Regions from separate parts of the Homo sapiens genome. Here region 1 is linked to region 2. The links are contacts of gene promoters, found by promoter capture Hi-C in human tissues and cell types (Jung and others, 2019). All regions are on one chromosome and are shown on one strand. Each heading gives the region's core, a stretch centred on a gene start or on the middle of the fragment in contact. The rest is flanking DNA. Distances are from core to core; before and after follow the strand shown.

Evidence for each region. Contacts are between HindIII fragments. The study calls those that stand out against the background at their distance.
Region 1: a contact is called between a fragment that was not itself captured here and the fragment with the promoter of CXXC4 in region 2, in 2 of the 25 tissues and cell types used here (heart left ventricle and heart right ventricle).

What each region holds. Positions count from the first base shown.
Region 1 is chr4:104,610,695-104,617,720 of GRCh38, reverse strand. The region is part of intron 1 of CXXC4-AS1 (CXXC4 antisense RNA 1); the gene reads right to left. All of the region lies in intron 1 of LOC124900745 (a long non-coding RNA gene), which reads left to right. Among named protein-coding and RNA genes, the nearest start is that of CXXC4, 120 kb to the right of the region's middle. The HindIII fragment of the contact is 4,146 bases long and covers 157-4,302 here.
Region 2 is chr4:104,491,371-104,499,080 of GRCh38, reverse strand. CXXC4 (CXXC finger protein 4) reads left to right here and starts at 4,187. Exons shown (of 3, transcript NM_025212.4): 1 at 4,187-4,380; 2 at 7,022-7,710. The coding sequence starts at 7,279. All of the region lies in intron 1 of CXXC4-AS1 (CXXC4 antisense RNA 1), which reads right to left. RefSeq lists an enhancer at 6,700-6,749. The HindIII fragment of the contact is 3,942 bases long and covers 1,329-5,270 here.

The DNA.
Region 1 (7,026 bases), core at 980-3,479, 120 kb before region 2:
AAGTACAAAGTGGAGCAGCAAGTGCTGACGTAGAAGCTGCAGCAAATTATCCAGAAGATCTAGCTAAGATAATTGATGAAGGTGGATATGCTAAACAATAGATTTTTTTTTTTATGTAGACAAAACAGTGTTTTATTGGAGGAAAAGACCAATCTAGGACGTTCATAGCTAGAGAGGAAAGTCAGTGCCTGGCTTCAGAGCTTTAAGGACAGGCTGACTCTCTAGTTAGGAGTTCATGCAGCTGGTGACTTCAAGTTGAAGCCAGTGTTTGTTTATCATTCTGAAAATTTTAGGGCCCTTAAACATTATGCTAATTCTACTCTTCTTGTGCTCTATAAATAGAACAACAAAGCCTGAATGATGGCACATCTGATTACAGCAGAGTTTGCTAAATATTTAAGCTCACGATTGAGGCCTACTGCTCAGAAAAAAAAAAAAAAAGAAAGATTCACAATATTTACTAGTGATTGACAATATCCATTTTGTAGCCCATGGATCAAGGAATAATTTAGACTTTCATGTTCTGTTATTTAAGAAATACATTTTATAAGGCTATAGTTGCCATAATGATTCTTGTGATGAATGTGGGCAAAGTAAATTGAAAACCTTATGGAAAAGAGTCACCATACTAAATGCCATTTGTGGGAGTGAGACAAAGCAGGATGGCCAAATAGAAGCTTCCACCTATCACCCCCCACACCACCCAGCACAGGAACAACAAATTTAACAACTATCTACACAGGAAAAGCACTTTCATTAGAACCAAAAATCAGGTGAGCACTCACAGTATCTGGCTTTAACTTCATGTTGCTGCACTGAAGATGGTAGAAAAAATAGTCTTAAACATCTAACACCTCCTAACACCCATCCCCTGGCAGCAACTGCATGGCACAGAGAGAGGATCTGTGTGCTTATGGGGAGAGAGAGTGCAGTGATTGTGAGACCTTGCATTCAACTCAGTGCTGCCCTGTCAGAGTAGAAAGCAAAACTGGCCGAACTCAGCCAATCCCTGCCCACAGACGGAGCATTTAAACCAGCCCTCGCCAGAGAGGAATTGCCAATCCTAGCAAATCCTAGCAGTCGGAACCTCAGTTTCAGCAAGCCTCACCACCATGGGCTAACGTGTGCTGGAGTACACACAAACTTGAAATGCAGTGTAGGCCACACGACTACAATTCCTAGGCAAGTCCAAAGGCTGTGCTGGGCTCAGAGCCAATGTACTTGGGGGGAATGTGACAGTGAGACACCAGCCATAGAGATTGAGGGAGTGCTTGCACCACCCCTCCCCCAACCTCAGGCAGCACAGTTCACAGCAACAAAACTGACTTTACTCTGCTTAAGGAGAGAGGAGGGAAAAATAAAGAGAAGTTTGCCACAAGAGTGGCAGTACTCCCTATGGGCCAGTAGTGATGGTAGCCATGGGGAGAAGCTCCTCTGCCTCTGGAAAAGGAAGAGAAGAGTGGCCAGATCTGTGTCATGTGGCTTGAGCACCAGCTCAGCTGCAGTAGAATAGAATATCAGGTAGATTTCTAAGTATTTTGATTCCACTCCATGGCTCCTGGACAGTATCTCTGGACCTGCCCAGGGTCTGGAGGAACTTGCCACCCTGAAGGGCAGGACAAAAACTTGGCTGGCTTTGCCACCTGCTGATTGTGAAGCCCTAGGGCCTTACGTGACCATAAACAATAGCCAGGTAGTGGTTACAGTGGGCTTTTGGTGAGACCCAGTGCTGTGCTGGCTTCAGTTCTGATCCAGCACAGCCCCAGTGGCGGTGGCCACAGGATGCTCATGTCACCCCTCCCCCAGCTCTGCATGGCTCAGCACACAGAGAGAGACTTCATTGGTTTGGGAGAAAAAGTGAGAATGAGTCTCTCTCTCTGGTAATCCACAAGATTCCTCCAGATTTTATCCAAGGCTGCCAATGTAGTACTTCTACAAGTATGCAAGAATCACAGTGTTACTGGGCTTGGGGTGTCCCTAATGCAGAAACAGCTTACATCACAACACCCAAGTCCTTTAAAATACCTGGAAGGCCTTCCCAAGGAGGACAGGTAGAAACATGCCCAGACGGCACAGACTAAAATAAATACCTAACTCTTCAATTCCCAGACATTGATGAACAATCATAAGCATCAACACCATTCAGGAAACTGTCACCTACCAAACAAATTAAATAAGGCACAAGGGACCAATTCTGGAGAAAGAGAAATATGTGATCTTTCAGACAGACAATCCAAAATAGCTGTTTTGAGGAAACTTAAAGAAATTCAACATAATACAGACAAGGAAATCAGAATTCTATCAAAGAAATTTAATAAAGAGATGATTGAAATAATTAAAAAGAATCAAGCAAAAATTCTGGAGCTGAAATATGCAAGTGACATACTAAAGAATGCATTGGAGTCTCTTAGTGGCAGAACTGATCAAGCAGAAGAAAGAATTTCTGAGTTTGAAGACAGGCTATTTGAAAATACACACTCAGAGGAGATAAAATGAAAAATAATAAAAAACAATGAAGCACACTTACAAGATCTGGAATATAGCCTCAAAAGGGCAAATCTAAGAGTTATTGGCCTTAAAGAAGAAAGTAGAGAAATGGATAGGGGTATAAAGTTTATTCGAAAAGATAATATCACGGAACTTCCCAAACCTAGAGAAAATTTCAAAATTCAAATATAAGAATGTTACAGAACACCAAACAGATTTAACATAAAGAAGATCACCACAAGGCATTTAATAATCAAACTCCCAAAGATAAACCATTAAAGGATTATAAAAGCAGCAAGAAAAAAGAAACAAATAACACAATGGAGCTCCAATGTGTCTGGTAGCAGACTATTCAATGGAAACCTTACAGGCCAGGAAAGAGGGGTGTGACATACTTAAAGTGCTGAAAGAAAAAATCTTTTATCCTAGAATAATATATCTGGTGAAAATATCCTTCAAACATTAAGGAGAAATGAAGAATTTCCCAGACAAACAAAAGCTGAGGAATTTCACTCACACTAGATGTGTCCTGCAAGAAATGCTAAAGGGAGTACTTCAATCAGAAAAAAAGAAATCATTTGAAGGTACAAAACTCACTGGTAATAAATAGCAAGTACACAGAAAAACACAGACTATTATAATACTCTGCGGTAGATAAACTACTCATATCTTAAGTAGAAAGACTAAAAGATGAACCACTCAAAAATAAGAACTATGCCAACTTTTCAAGACATAGACAATACGATAAGATAAATACAAACAAAAAGTTAAAAAGTAGGGGGCAAAGTTGAAGTGTAGAATTTTTATTAGTTTTCTTTTTGCTTGTTAGTTTGTTTATGCAAGCAGTTTAAATTTGTTATGAGCTTAAAATAATGAGTTATATTTGCAAGCCTCATTGTAATCTCAAATCAAAAACATACGACCAATAAACAAAAAAGAAAAACCAAGAAATTAAATCATACCACCAGAGAAAATCATCTTCACAAAAAGGACAAAGAGAAGGATGGGAAGAAGGAAGAGAAGGCCACAAAGCCAGAAAACAAATAGCAAAATGGCAGAAGTAAGTTCATATTAATCAATAATAACATTGAATGTAAATGAACTAAAATTCTCAGTAAAAAGACATAGAGCGGCTGATTGAATAAAAAGCAAGACTCAGTGATCTGTTGGCTACAAGATACATGCTTCACCAATGAAGACACACATGGACTTAAAATAAAGGGATGGAAAAGGATATTCCATGCCAATGGAAACCAAAAAAGAAGAGAAAAAATAGATTTCAAGACAAAAACTATAAGAAGAGACAAAAAGGTCATTATATAACGATAAAGGGTGAATTGAGCAAGGAGATGAAACACTTGTAAATATATATGCACCCAACCCTGGAGCACCCAGATACATAAATCAAATATTATTAGTGCCAAAGAGAGAAATAGATAACATTACAATGATAACTGGAGATTTCAACACCCCATTTTCAGCACTGGAGAGGTCTTCTAGACAGAAAATCAATTAAAAAATTGTACTTTATCTGCACTGTAGATAGACCTAATTGACCTAATAGATATTTACCAAAGATTTCATCTAACAGCTGCAGAATACAAATTCTTTTTCTCAGCACATGTATTATTCTCAAGGACAGACCATATTTTAGGTCACAAAACAAGCTTAAAACATTTTTTTAAAAACCCTGAAATAATATCAAGCATCTTCTCTGACTACAATAGAATAAAACTAGAAATCAAGAACAAGAGGAATTTTGGAAACCATACAAACACATGAAAATTAAGCAATATGCTCCTGAATGACCAGTGGTCAATGAAGAAATTAAGAAGGAAATTGAAATATTTACTGAAACAAATGATAATGAAGAAACAATATGCCAAAACTTATGAGTCACAGCAAAACAGTACTAACAGGGAACTTTATAGCTATAAGTGCCTACATCAAAAATGAAGAAAAGCTTCAAATAAATAACCTAATAATACATCTTAAAAAACTAGAAAAATAGGAGCAAACCAAATCCAAAATTAGTAGAAGAAAAAAAAAGATCAGAGCAGAAATAAATGAAATTGAAATGAAGAAAACAATGCAAAAGATCAATGAAACAAAAAGTTGGTTTTTTGGAAAACATAAACAAAGTGACAAACCTTTAGCCAGACTAATGAAAAAAGAGAGAGGACCCAAATAAATAAAATCAGAGGTAAAAAAGGAGACATTAAAACTGATACCACAGAAATTCAAAGGATCATTACTGGCTACTATGAACAACTATATGCCAATAAATTTGAAAATCTAGAGAAAATGGATAAATTCCTAGACACAAGCAACCTACCAAGATTGAATTGTGAAGAAATTCATAACCCAGACACACTAATAACAAGTAACCAGATCAAAGTCATAATAAAAAGTCTCCCAGCAAGGAAAAGCCCAGGACCCGATGGCTTCATTGCCAATTTCTACCAAACATATAGGAAGAACTAGTACCAGTCCTACTCAAACTATTCCAGAGAATAGAGGAGGAGGGAGTACTTCCAAACTTTTTCTATAAGGCCAATATTAGCCAGATACCAAAACCAGAAAAAGACACATCAAATAAAGAAAGCTACAGGCCAATATCCCTAATGAATATTAATATAGAAATCCTCAACAAAATACTAGCAAACCAAGTTCAACAACACATTAAAAATTTTATTCACCATGACCAAGTGGGATTTATCCCAGGAGTGCAAGAAGGTTCAACATAAACAAACCCATCAATGTGATACACCATAGCAACAGAATGAAAGACACAAACTATATAATCATTTTTCTTGAAGCTTAAAAGCATTTGATAAAATTCAACATCCCTTCATGATGAACCCCTGAAAAAACTTGGTATAGAAAGAATCTACTTCAACATAATAAAAGCCATATGGGCCGGGCACAGTGGCTCACACCTGTAATCCCAGCACTTTGGGAGGCCAAGGCGGGTGGATCACGAGGTCAGGAGATCGAGACCATCCTGGCTAACATGGTGAAACCCCATCTCTACTAAAAAATACAAAAAATTAGCTGGGTTTGGTGGCACGCAGCTGTGTTCCTGGCTGCTCAGGAGGCTGAGGCAGGGTAATGGCGTGAACCTGGGAGGCGGAGCTTGCAGTGAGCCGAGATTGTGCCACTGCACTCCAGCCTGGGTGACAGAGCAAGACTCCATCTCAAAAAAATAAAATAAAATAAAATAAATAAAAGCCATATATTACAGGCCCACAGGTAGAATCATACTGAATTGGGGGCAGGGTGCGGGGAGCAGCAGAAAGACTTTCCTCTAAGATCAGGAACATGACAAGGATGCTGCTCTTACCACTGTTATTCAACATAGTACTTGAAGTCCTAGCTACAGTAATCAGACAAGAAAATAAAATAAAATCATCCAAACTAGAAAGAAAGCTGTCAAATTATCCTTGTTTACAGATGATATGATTTCATATTTGGAAAAACCTAGACTCCACAATAAAACTATTAAAAATGATAAACAAATTTAGTAAAGTTGCTGGATACAAAAATCAACATATAAAAATCACTAACACTTCTATATGTCAACACTGAACAATCTGAAAAAGAATTTAAGAGACTAATCCCATTTACAATAGCTACAAATAAAATAATATACCTAGGAATAAACTTAACTAAAAAAGTTAAAGATTCCAGCAATGAAAACTATAAAACATTGAAGTATGAAATTGAAGGGGACACCAAAAAATGAAAAAGATATTCCATGTTCATGGATTGGAAGAATCAATATTGTTAAAATGTCCATACTATCCAAAGCAATCTACAAATTCAGTACAATCCCTATAAAAATACAGATGCTATTGTTCACAGAAATAGAAAAAAAAATCAATCTCAAAATGTATAAGGAACCACAAAGCACCCAGAATAGCTAAAGCTATGCTAAGCAAAAAGAACAAAGTTGAAATAATCACATTACCTGACTTCAAATTATACTATAGAGCTATAGTAACCAAAACGGCATAGTACTGACCTAAAAACAGACACACAGGTCAACAGAATAGAATAGAGATTCCAGAAAAAAAAAATCCAAATGTCTACAATGAACTCATTTTGACAAAGGTGCCAAACCATACATTGGAGAAAGGACAGTATCTTCAATAAATGGTGCTGGGAAAACTGGATATTCATATGCAGAAGAATGAAACTAGAACCCTATCTCTTGCCATACACAAAAATCAAACTAAAATGAATGAAAGACTTAAATTTAAGACCTTAAACTATGAAACTATTACAAAAATACATTGGTGAAACTCTCCAGGATATTGAACTAGGCAAAGATTTCTTGAGTAATACCCGACAAGCACAGACAACTAAAGAAAAGTGGACAAATGGGATCATATCGAGTTAAAAAGTTTTTGCACAGCAAAGGAATCAACAAAGTGAAGAGTGAATCCACATAATGGGAGAAAATATTTGCAAACTACCCATATGATAAGGGACTAATAACCATAATATATAAGGAGCTCAAACAACTCTATAGGAAAA
Region 2 (7,710 bases), core at 2,938-5,437:
GTATAAGACACAATTCCCAATGTCAACCAACTCAAATTCTGGGAAAGGAGCCAGGTAAATAAAAATCCTAGGTAGATTTTTGGCCAGTCAAAAGAGTTAAAGAAATTATTCCCTATTTGTTTTAAGGGAATATTCCTTCTATAAAGGATGTGGTTATTTACTATATCCACAGTGAATTACTATGGCAAAAGAGGTGGTCCTCAGAGCCCATGAATGTAAGTTGAGATGTGAGTCCTTGGATATTAGGTAAGAAAGCTCCACACACCTTTTCTGACCTCCATGTTGTATATTTTCTTATGACTAATAGGAAACATCTCATTTGTGCGAGGTTAAAAATTACCTCTTGGTTTGAAAACACCAGCAGACAAGCTGCAGGTCCCCAAGATTTATCTCGGTTAGTTTATTTTTTATTTATGCTATTTTCTCTGATTGTATTACTTCTGCTTTCTTTATTCTTCAGTAAATTCTTGTTCAAATCTTCTAACCTTGTCTTGGCTATCCTACAAGTATTTAAGAAAGCTTAGTTCTTTCACAGTTGCCAAACTTTCCCTAAAGTCATTAAGACTGTTTTCAGTGGTAATCAGCAAAATAACTTCCAGGGAGCAGAGGAATTTCAAGGTTAGATTCAGGGCTGTGTGGTCTACTTAATCACTTCATCAGATTATTCTCCTTCTGTGTTACTCTGCGTGGAAGATAGCTAGCTGTCCCTCAGAATTGTTTCTCTACCCCATAGTAATAAAGCTGCATCTTGGAGTTGGCTTCCCAGTAATCTTTGCAGCTAGGTGTGGCATGTAACAAGTTTTTGACAATTGCATGTGAGCTACAGTGCTATGTTCCACTTTAAGACCAAGACTTTTAACAAGCCATCATAGCTCCTTCATGCCCTTCTGCCAGCTTGATGTAGTTGAGCAGTCCTTTGGAGATAAAATGTCCCAAGATAAAAGGAATCTTAATCTATGGATCACTCATAGAGAAGAATGGTCTCTGATCTGAAATTCCCACCCTGGACTGTTACATGAGAAAACACATACTTCTGTGGATTTTGCATTGGTAAATTTTGAGGTCTATTTATTTCAACAGAATATGCTACCTTTTTGGAGATTCTGGATAACAATGATGATCATGATTATGTTGGAAAGTAGCAGTACTTTAAAGATATTTGAGAGCAGTACATAAAATTTATGCTGAGTGGGGATACTTTTTTTGGGTGATGCTCAAGTTGGGATTAAAAAAAAAGTCCCATCAGGATAGCTATGAAACCTTTGAACTCTCTCCTAGCTAAGATTTTAAAAAATCATAAAGCAGGGTAAAGGCACAAACCACTTCCAGGTAATTGGAAGCTGTAATGGGCATTTTGCAGAGAAAACAATCTCACTTTTTCGTATATCATATAAAACTGTGGACTTAAAGAGAGTTAACAGAGAACTGAGTGTTCTCAGGTATTATTATCAAAACCCTGATATATCATTTTAAAGAAGACAAACATAGACTAATGTGAGACATGGTGCATATATGTATCTACACTAGTATAAAAAATTAATGGATATGAGATAGATGAGAAAAAAGATTTCCCTTGATCATATTTGGCTAAGTATGCAATCAATTCCCTAGTGGAAAGGAAACAGAATGCTATATCAGAGCCATGAGGTATATTGTTTATAATTTCTTTTATAAATTTAATTGATCCCATATCAACTAGGGGCCTACAATCATAATTAAATCTGAGGTTCCAGTATCCAGAGAAGGTTTATTGATTGATTAATTATTGACAGTGAGACTAGGGTAGAGGTTATAAACATAAGGCTTTGGAATAGACCAGATTGGGTACAAATTTCAAACTTTTTACATACTAACTTTGTGACCTAATCTAGGTTACCTCATTTCTCTGGGCCTCAATTTCCTTGTTTGTAAAATGGAAATAATAGCCACTTCACAGGATTATTGCAAGGACAAAATAGAATATCTGCAAATTACTTAGTGCAGGATCTGACACTAATGGGTCATTAATAGGGGCTATTATTATTAATTATTAAGACCAAGAATTCTGTAGTTTTCCTTCATTAGCTGGAAAGTAAAATTCATTGGAATTTAGAACATATTTTCTCTCACGTGTTTAAGATTTCATTTTGAAAGTAAGCTTGAAGAGTCCCAAAAAGGAAAGCATGAGAAAAGGAATTTCCAAAAAGGAAAATTTCCAGAAAAGAAAATTTGGCAAAAGAAAGCATGATGTCTTTATTTGATTAAAAACATTGCTTATTTATAAACTTCAAAATTTCTAACATTGGACTGATATTTTAAATATTGTGAAAAGATGTTTAAGAATCTATCATTTTTCTAGCATGTTTTCACTCATTAAAAAGTGACCACATTTTCCTGATAAATTTCCTATGAAGCTGAGCTAAAACAAAATAATCAAATGGAAAATTTCCTTTTTTGCTTTTATAATGCATTAGCACAAGAATAAAAATATCTTATTAACTTGAATAATTATTAACCCTCCAGTTATTTTGTCTATAGATGTCAAATAACCGGTAATAATCAAACAGCTTATGCTTTAAAAAAATTACAAAACATGTATATTAATCAATGAGTCACAAAATACACCTGTTTCCTATTGCAATAGTAGCCCACTCTTGAAATAACACCTTCATTTAGGCATACACACACCACAGTTTCAAACTTGTTATCAACAATTTATCCTCCATAGTTGGTAATGTCTTGATATGGTCAAAGTCTATCTTTTGAAAATTCAAATACAAAATGGTTTAAAATGTCTTTTCAGCTTTTTTTTCTTATTAAAGAAACAAAACATTATATTTTCCTCACTTATCTGAACAATTAATATTGCATTACTCTAGAATAAACACTTAATTTTAATACAAAACTTGTACTCTGCTTGATAACACCAATTTAAATAATCTTAAGTTTTTTCTTTCCTACTCTATAACTTACCTTAGCCACTGTTTTGCTCTTAGAAAAAAAATTATTCAAAAGTATTCATAATTCTGTATCTTATAACTATTTCCACTAGAGTATACTTTAATAGTAGGATAGCATGTGTCCACAAATATTTTATTTGAGGCAGCAGTGAAGAGGTTAATTTACAGCTGCATTTATGAACGAGTTTTATTTATATTTGACGTGCCGTACAATATTTATGTTTCAATTCATAAACTATGTTTTCCCAAGTGGCAAGAAGTGAAATGTTAATTACATACTATTCTAAAATAGACTGAAAGACAAAAGTTTTTGTTTAAGTAAAGTTTGAAATTAAAAAATAGGGCAGTGAGTTAAAAATCTGATTTATTCTTTGGAACTACCAGATGGAATAGTAAAAGAGGATTTTGGGAGGAGAGAGAGAAGAGTAGAGAAGAGAGACAGAGATTGAGATGGATTTTGAAATTGGCCAAGCATCATATCACCGATTTTTTACATTCTGGCATAATAGTACTTCGAGGGTCTGAAGAACCACACCGGTCCGTTTTCCCTTACTTTAAAGATCTAAATGGTATTTTTTTTTAAAGTCTTCCTGGGTACACCAGGAAATTTATTTAAAACCATGCCATTGGGTACGAACTAAGAGCATTCTTCAAACAAACATGACCTTTTCTCTGTTTCTTGTATTGCTCTTCTCAACCCAGCCAGAAATCCCAGACAAGTTTATTTACACACACACCCGCACACGCACGCACACACACACCCCACACGCAGAGTGGCGGAAACGCCCTCTTTCCAACCCTTCCAAACAATTATCTCCGAGAGCAAAAGAAAATAATCAACAGCCCTGTGTGCTGGGCTGAGCCGGAGAGCCGGGCGCGAGGAGGGAGGGCGATCCGCAGGCGAGCAGGGAAAACGTGGCTCCTCTGCCGAGGAGAGGATTTGTGAAAAGGAGCGCTGGCCCGCGTGCGCCTCTTGTTCCCCGTGTAATTTGCAGCCAATCATCAGTAGGTGTCCACGTCCCTGCGTCCTCCTCACCTCGGCGCCAATCACCCCCACCCCCGCGCCCCCGCCCCCAGCCTCCACACCTCCTCCCTCGCCTTTCTCTGTGGCTCCCCTCCCCCAGCAACCGCACACTCGCACACACACAAACAGAGAGAGAAGGGGGGAGGGTGAGAGAGAGGGGAAGAGAGAGAGAGAGAGAGAGGGGAGAGAGAGAGGAGAGACTCCCCGGCTCCCTCCCTCCCTCGCACACAGCGACTGGAGACGGACGGAGAGCAACGCGCTGGGAGAGGAGAGACCACCGACAACAGACCCGCGCTCTCACACATACACTCACACTCGACTCTTTCCTCTCCCCCCACCTCCTCCTCCTTCCACCCCCACCACTAACACCATCTCCTCCTCCTTCTCTCTGCAACAAGAAAAAAAAGCCATTTACAGGTATTTTTTTTGATCCGCATATTTATTTACCCCCCCCCCCCCAACAGTTTGTTTACAAGTATTAAAGTTGTAATTGGGAGCTGCCAAGACACATCTGGATTTGTGTTTCTTTGTGTTAGGGGGTGATGTGCAACTAATTAAAGGCAGACTGGCAGCGTCTGCAAATTCTAAGGCTCCCCAAATAAAAAGAGACTGGTAAGTGATTGTTCTTTCTCTTTCTCTGGCTTTTTTTTCTCTTAAATGTTTGCTGTCCGTTGGGATTGTGAAAGTAGATTATTAATGCTGGACTCCAGCAAGAAAAAGCGTCGCTGTATTAATTTATTAATTAGTCTGCACCCGCCCCTCCTCCTGAATGTTAAATATGACCTTTGATCTCTATGTCTCTGGTAGACCAGACATACAGTATTAGGCATGTAAAGTCACATTGTTTAAAGGCAAAACAGGATCATGAAGTATGGATCTCTAATTTAGCTTTGGCATAGAACTATAGTTATTTGTGTGTGTTTTATTTTGTTTTTAAATAAAATCCAAACAATAGCTGTGGCTTAGATACCTTTTTCATGCTCCAGAGATGCATTGATTAAACAATAATGACCTGGATACTGGGCATAATCATTTTCTACAGTTTCTGGTGGTATTAAACCTTGAGGTAGGAAGAGGGATGGTGATGGCAATCAGAAAAGCAAGGAAAGCTTGTGTTTGGAAACACCACTCTAAGACTCTAAAAAAGGGACGTTAAATTATTTATTTATTTGGAACAAGGTCAAAAGACTAAAAGGTTGAAAATTTTCCCTCCACTCAATGTGATGATATCTAATGCATGGTTGACATAACTAGTTTTTACTGAGTAGCAGTTATTATGGTCTTGCAGTTACAATGTGATTCGCAGAAACTGAAGCTATATGCATATTCTTGCTGTGTCTTCCCTCACCCCTTCCAAGCATCAAGAATATTTAGCCAAGAGCATTTTGGGGGCACCTTTTGTATTGCCCTCAGACCTGAGAAGGCAGCAGTTTTCCCTAATGCGAAACCACAGAGGTGGTTCCTGAGTGATTAGGGACTTGCTGTGATTGAAAGATGCCTGCAAGCTTCTAATCCAGCCTGGGGTGAGGTTCCTTATCTTGATTTACTTTGCCTAATAGGGATTTGTTTACATAAACCCCTCTTTTTAGAGCACCTCATCAGTAGGTCTTGAAGTTTTTGCACTTGGAGTTTGGGCATAACTGGTTCATTAACCTAATTATAAGCATAATTACTATAATTGATAACCATTTTGAACTCTGAATATTTGAGACGGAGACTATTGGGCCCCCATGTAGAATTCCCTGAACTCTGCATTCTAGACCAATCTATGGGCTTCAAAAGATGTCACAAAAAGATATTCTGGCCAAAAAATCTGGAAACAAAGAAACTGGTTTTTTAAGTGAATATACACTTTATGCCTTTGCTTTGCTTCTTAAAAGGCTGTGATGTACTTCTCCCTCTGTAATAAACAACTAAAATACCTCTTCCTAAAGCATAATAATGGCCTGTAAGCAAGGAGATTAATGCAAATACCCAGTTAACATTAAACTTTCCTCTTAAAAAGAGCAAAATTAAAAAATAATTTTGTTATTTTTCTCTGGCAAAGAACACGTTAAAGCCCCCCCCCCTTTTACTCAATGTAAAAATCAGTGATTGTGAGATATCCTTTTCAAAAAGTCCCATGCTTTCCTCTTGTCTTCGGAAGAGACAGCAATCTCCATTAGGAATGATTAGGAATATTCTTATAGAGGCTGCAGGCACTTGGTTTAAAACCTGAGACATTGCTGATATAAATAAATATGTATATATGTAATTATCTGGCTTATCTTTATTTTCTACCTTAAAAAAAATCAAGTAGAACACCACCCTCTTACCCCCACCAAGACCCACCACCAAATGGCTTGTACAATTGAGACCTGTCCTTGGTCCATTGAATTAAGACCCTAACAGAGCCAGCTGTGCTGGGATTCAAACTAATGACCGCAGACACAGAAGGATACTGTGGCAGCTGGTAGTTCTTTTTTCCCTGCCTCTTTAGTTCAGATTGTATGTGGGCAGTCTCTTAGCTCTCAGTTGTATTGTGTTTGCTTACAGTTTATACTCGGATGTATTGTAGACTTTTTCAGTACTTCATTTGCTAATTTCCTGTTCATTTTCCTCATAGGGCCATTGCTGTTTTCTACTTTACAGCATTTGCATGCCCAGGCAGCACTTGTTCACACATTTCATAATGTTTAAATGCCCTCTGCTTATAGGTAGTATCGCCCTCCCACCCATGATTTGCATGTCTTTAGCACTCCAATTGCCCTTTTCCTTAGGCGTTTGTCACCCCCGTCTTCCTTCTTTCCCTGGGTATCCTGGCTATTAATACATTTTCTCAGGAGGGTTATAAGAATAGGGGGGAGGAGCTGTGGTTTGCTGTGGGGAGGGAGGGAGCGGGGGTTGGGAGAGTTGGGGGGGATGGGCTGGGGGGGGTCACGTCTTGATGATTCTTATGCAAACGACCTGATGGAAGAATGTGGGAGCTTTCGGTGTCTGCGGTGGGTTAGTGAGGGAGGTTGTTTATTTTTAATCTTTTTCCTCGTGCAGCTCGTTGGAATGACTTTCTTTATTTTAGTTGTAACAGTTGGAGGATAATGCAAAGGAAGACGCTGCCTGGGAATTCACCGTCTGTGGAAATGAGCCCCAGAGAGGAATAAAGCAGCCCTCACCTTGCTCTCCCCACCCGAACCCACTTTCCCCACCCGCCTCGGCCCCCACCCCAACACCACCATCACTCCCTTCCCTCCCCCCCACCTTTCCCCCTTTTCCACCCAGGTGTCGGACCAGGCGGTCCCCACTTCCACCCTGCACCCCTTCTTCCCCCCCTGCACCATGAACACCAATGTCTGCGTGGAGCCCGGGCCGAGCCCGGAGGCCCCGGGCTTGCCCAAGGAAAGCCACTTGCCCGAGGGGGCTCTGAACAGCCTTGTGGATTACAACTCGGAAATGGAGCGCTACCGCTCCTTTGCCACCTCCTTCTACAAGACCAACGGGGGCGCCTTCCCACAGGCGGCCAAGATCGCGCGCATCACCACCCCCATCTTCCCCAGCAGCGCCGCCGCCGCCGCGGCCGCCGCGCGCATCGGCATGTCCCCCTGGAACTGCGACAACGCGGCCACCGCCGCCGCCGCCACCGCCATGCTCTGGGGCAGCGGCGGGGGCGGGGGCGGCGGCGGGGGGGGTGGCGGCGGCGGCGGCGGCGGCGGAGGCGGGGGCGGGGGTGGTGGGGGCGGCAGGAAATCCTCCTCCGCCGCCGCCTCCTCC